Regions from separate parts of the Homo sapiens genome. Here region 1 is linked to region 2. The links are contacts of gene promoters, found by promoter capture Hi-C in human tissues and cell types (Jung and others, 2019). All regions are on one chromosome and are shown on one strand. Each heading gives the region's core, a stretch centred on a gene start or on the middle of the fragment in contact. The rest is flanking DNA. Distances are from core to core; before and after follow the strand shown. Region 1 overlaps PAG1 (phosphoprotein membrane anchor with glycosphingolipid microdomains 1). Region 2 holds the start of IMPA1 (inositol monophosphatase 1).

Region 1 (2,700 bases), core at 22-2,521, 680 kb before region 2:
CTCCAGAATCCCTCACTCCCTGACGTTCTCCCAGTCCTGCCTTGTAACACATGGGGCAATTTGTTAAAGGGCTGAGGCCCAGATATAATAGAGTTGGAGAGGGGCCCAAGAATCTATATTTTAATTTTTAAATTTAAATTTTAATTATTTTTTGAGACGGAGTCTTGCTCTGTCGCCCAGGCTGGAGTGCAGTGGCGCGATCTCGACTCACAGCAACCTCTGCCACCCAGGTTCAAGCAATTCTCCCACCTTAGCCTCCCAAGTACCTGGGACTACAGGCATGTGCCACCATGCCTGGCTAATATTTGTATCTTTAGTACAGATGGGGTTTCATCATGTTGGCCAGGCTGGTCTCAAACTCCTGACCTCAAGTGATCTGCCTGCCTCAGCCTCCCAAAGTGCTGGGATTACAGGCATGAGCCACCATGCCTGGCCAAGAATCTATATTTTTATCTTGCATCCTAAGTGATTCCCAAGTAGGTAATTCACTAGAAAACCCTTTGAAGGACACAGGTCTCGTGCTTGTGAGTCCTGCACTGCCCAATCCTGAATCTGTTCTCTATCCCTTCTCTCTCTGTGTGGGCACTGAAGTGCCACCTCTTCCTGGTCCCTTTCCATCTCACTGGTTCTGTAGACAAGCCTCACTGTGTTCCTGGTTCATAGTGTGAAAGTAAAAATCTAATCTCATAGCGGGTCCCCAGGGGCAGAGGCAGTGAAACTCCAGAAGTCCACAGGGAGAACTCAGAAAACTGACCCTCCTTAGAAAGCCATGGAGCCAATGGGATTACAAGACCTCATGCACCAAAAAGAATGCAATTCTGAACATCTTTAAAATCACACTGTCTTCCTCGAGATTTTCCATTTTTTTTTTCTATTTGGAAATCATGAATAAAATGGAAGTTATGGGTTAAGGCTGTGTTTATGAAAAGTCTTGGAGTATAATGTGAAGAGTTTTACATTTTGAGTGTCACAGAGGTTTTCAAGTTGAAGGATCATATGTGGAACTCACATTGTATGCCACAGTATTAAGAACTTTTTTGGAGAGGCCTTAGAATATGGATTCATTAAGCTAACATTTTAAAGAGAGCCTTTCCCTGTGCTGAGTTCAAAGCCCTTTGTATGTAAGGCAGTCAACATGGTCACTCTACCCCCAATTTCCATTTTCTTTGGAAAGTAGAGACCAAGGAAAGTCTTCAGGTTGTACAATGAGAACAAATATCACAGTATGGCTCTGACAGCCCTGCCCCCTTCACTTCTCTATGCTACGTTTTCACTCTTTTTCTGGAAAGGGTATTTTAAAGGCATTCAACAGAGAGGCAGAGAGAGAGAGAGTAGCCTATGATACAGCGGCAAGGTTTGCAGGTAGGGACAGGCATATATTAGAGACATGTTGTGGGAAGTGCGGGAAAAAGGTGCCAACAACATCTTCTAGAAATGTGGAAGTTATTTGATTTTAAGTTAATTTATCATAAAAGAAACATGGATCTCATGGAGTACAAGGTTCTATTAAGAACTTAAAAAATAGGCCAGGCATGGTGGCTCACGCCTATAATCCCAGCACTTTGGGAGGCTGAGGTGTGTGGATTACCTGAGGTCAGGGGTTCGAGACCAGCCTGGCCAACACGGTGAAACCCCGTCTCTACTAAAAATACAAAAATACAAAAAAAAAAAAAAAAAATAGTAGACGGGTGTGGTGGCGGGCACGTGTAATCCCAGCTATTCAGGAGGCTGGGGCAGGAGAATTGTTTGAAGCCAGAAGGTGGAGGTTGCAGTGAGCTGAGATCGTGCCACTGCATCCCAGCCTGGGTGACAGAGCAAGACTCTGTCTCAAAAAAAAAAAAAAAAAAAAAAAAGAACTTAAAAAATAAAACACGGGAGCTTGAAGAATGACACATGGAGTCAGGAATGTGAGTTCACACTTCTCTGCCACTGAGGCTTTGAGGAGGTCTGGCTGTACTAAGAGCATAGACTATATTTCTGTGAGTGGCACCTCCTAGAGGCATGAGGTTTGCACTAAATAGCCGTGGCAGTGGCCCTGCCAATGCTTACTGTGAGAAATATAACAGTGGAATCTGGTCCGGGGGAATCACTGTGTGCTTATTTCTCATGCATCTATTACAGGAAAACTTCAAGAAAAATATATTTACAAAACAGGACAAGAAGATGTGTTTTTAGGACAAAAAGAAAACTCATCTAGGAAAATCAAGGTAGCCACTGACATCTAGTAATTGCTATTGGGAAAAGAAGTTAGTATGTATCATTTTGTCCATCGGATTAAATAATATAAGCTATGTGGTTTCATTCTAGTTCTTTTTGTAAGCAATTATTTCTAACAGTTACGTGATTTCTAGACACAAATTGTAAAACAATATGCTATTATCCCATAAACAAGAATAATTCAGTCTTTTTCACATCACATATTTTAGACCTTTCTCCAAACTCTTCAAAATTCTACTTCATTATACTTAATAAATTGCCATGTTATAGTGTTTCAGGAATAAACAAACTTTAGGGGCAACTGGCTCACTAGTAGTCACTGGTAACACTCTGCTTCCCTTTACGAAGAACATAATTAAGAACAATGTAAGGTGTTCTGCAGTAGCCACTTATCTATCATACGTTTTTGATTCTGTAGCCAGGATCCATCTAAGACACCAAGATGTATGACTACAGTATAGTTCTCAAACTATTAATACTCTC
Region 2 (2,700 bases), core at 136-2,635:
ACATAAGTATATTTAGATACTATGTATAGTATATATACTATACATAAGTATATTTAGATACTATATATACTATACGTAAGTATATTTAGATACTATATATAGTATATATACTATACATAAGTATATTTAGATATATATACTATAAATAAGTATATTTAGATACTATATATAGTATACATTAAGTATATTTAGATACTATATATAGTATATATACTATACATAAGTATATTTAGATACTATATATACTATACATAAGTATATTTAGATACTATATATACTATACATAAGTATATTTAGATACTATATATACTATACATAAGTATAGATACTATATATAGTATATATAGTATATATACTATACATAGTATATTTATGTACTATACATATAGTATATTTATATACTATATGTAAGTATATATGTAAGTATATTTATGTACTATATATAAGTATATATACCTAAGTATATTTAGGTACTATATATAAGTATGTATACCTAAGTATATTTCTGTACTATATATAAGTATATATACCTAAGTATATTTCTGTACTATATATAAGTATATATACGTAAGTATATTTCTGTACTATATATAAGTATATATACGTAAGTATATTTATGTACTATATATAAGTATACAGAAGTATATTTATGTACTATATATAAGTATATATACTATACATAAGTATATTTATGTACTATATATAAAGTATATAAGTACATTTTATATATATTTTTATATATAGTTATATATAATATATGAATAGTTATATATATATAAATCACAGTACATTTATTGATGGGCAGGGTCCGTAGTTTACTCACTTTCATTTTCCCAAAGCCATAAACACCTGAACTGTTTCCTGCTGTTTCTGTCCTGGTCACAGCCTTCCAGCGTAGGAGCCAGGCCACCTTCCTTTTTGCCACCTGTCCCAGCACCGCGACTGCGGGCAGCACAGGACCTGGGCGCTGCCCCATCACTTAGAGTGACTACCTGGGCCTGGGGATGCACCAAGTTTCTAGGAGCTTTTCGGAGTTGGGGACATAAAAAGGGGCAATTATTCCACAGAAGCCGCCACAGAGGTTAAGTGAGGTCGCGTGAGCGAACCGCTACTCCAATGCCGGAACTGTTCCCGGTCGCCCAGGGCAGCTCCGGATAACGCAGCAGGCAGGGGTCACCCAGAGGCTGCCTCCACCCTAGGCGCCGACCGCGCACGGCGCTCGCGCCCGCTCCTGAGGAGGGAAGGGGCCTCCCTGGAAACCCACAGCGCCCGCTGAACCCGGAGGGTGCGGTGAGGAAAATAACGGTCTCACCTTGAGTCGGAGGACGTCCGGCTAGCTCTGTGAACGGTGTTACCGCACTCGTCTCTTCCGGAGGTAGAGGGGCTACTCGCAACAGGAAGTTCCGCCCTTAAAAACTCCATTCCTGAGGGGGCGTGGTTGCTTTGCTGGGCCCCGCCCCGAGCTGCGCCCTGCGAGCCTCTGCCAGGCCGGGCCGGGTCCTGACCCGCGCTGGAGCATGGGATACTGCCTCTTCATTCTAGCTTCTGGTTCTTTTCTCCTGCTTGTCTTTTCATCTCTCAGTTTTTAAACATTACTTCTCTCTTTACTTTGCCTTTTTCTTCTTTCGTCCTCCATTCATTCACGGTTTCCCATTTAGCTTGCTTTCTTCTTTCTCCCATTTATTCTATAGTACTATTTTGACAAAACCCAGATTGCAGATATGATTCCGATTATGCAGCTTTTAGGTGCTAACCTAAAGCTGGTAAACCTATACTAGATTAAAAAAAAATAAACTGATAACCAGAACCAACTGCCCAATTCTTGATAATTTACTTACATACTATTTATTGAGGACTTACTATGCTTCAAGCAATTGTGTGGGGTTTTATTGTTTTGTTTTTTTGAGACGGAATTTCACTTTTGTCGCCCGGGCTGAAGTGCAATGGCGCGATCTCGGCTCACTGCAACGTCCGCCTCTTGGATTCAAGCGATTCTCATGCCTCAGCCTCCTGAGTAGCTGGGATTACAGACGCCTGCCACAACGCCCGGCTAATTTTTGTATCTTGTAGAGACGGGGTTTCACCATGTTGCTCAGGCTGGTCTCAAACTCCTGGACTCAAGTGATCCGCCTACCTCGGCCTCCCAAAGATTACAGGCATGAGCCACCACGCCTGGCCGAAATGTGTTTTTATATGCATTATTTTCCTTAAAGTTTTAACAGTTTCTTGAAAAAGGTATGATTAGCTTTGTCAGACAGATGAGGAAACTGAGGCTCAGAGTAGTTAAGTGATTTGTCCTCAGGTCACACAGCAAGAGCAGAGAGTGAAACACACTGAGTTCAAAGTTTTGGGGTTCAGAAAATGATACCCCACAATGAAGGCCTCAGAAGCAGCCTTAGAAGGAAAAATTTTCCTCTGACTCCTTTTGGTCTCCTGTCTCTGGTCCCACATTCTTCCCCAGACTAGTCATAGAAGCTAGAATTCCTCTTTCCCAAATCAGGTCCCAGAAATCAGGACCCCTTTTTTATAAAGCCAGCCATAAAACATAAAAATACTACTCTAGGCCAGGCAAGGTGGCTCACGCCTGTAATCCCACCACTTTGGGAGGCCAAGGCAGGCGGATCACGAGGTCAGGAGATCGAGACCGTCCTGGCTAACACGGTGAAGCCCCGTTTCTATTAAAAACACAAAAAAATTAGC

Evidence for each region. Contacts are between HindIII fragments. The study calls those that stand out against the background at their distance.
Region 1: a contact is called between a fragment that was not itself captured here and the fragment with the promoter of IMPA1 in region 2, in 1 of the 25 tissues and cell types used here (hippocampus).

The regions. Positions count from the first base shown.
Region 1 is chr8:81,005,808-81,008,507 of GRCh38, forward strand. All of the region lies in intron 3 of PAG1 (phosphoprotein membrane anchor with glycosphingolipid microdomains 1), which reads right to left. LOC124901967 (a long non-coding RNA gene) reads right to left here. Exons shown (of 2, transcript XR_007060979.1): 2 at 1-2,700. Among named protein-coding and RNA genes, the nearest start is that of PAG1, 100 kb to the right of the region's middle. The HindIII fragment of the contact is 5,670 bases long and covers 1-2,700 here.
Region 2 is chr8:81,684,940-81,687,639 of GRCh38, forward strand. It overlaps IMPA1 (inositol monophosphatase 1), which reads right to left and starts at 1,386. Exons shown (of 9, transcript NM_005536.4): 1 at 1,313-1,386. RefSeq lists an enhancer at 1,132-1,632. The HindIII fragment of the contact is 9,069 bases long and covers 1-2,700 here.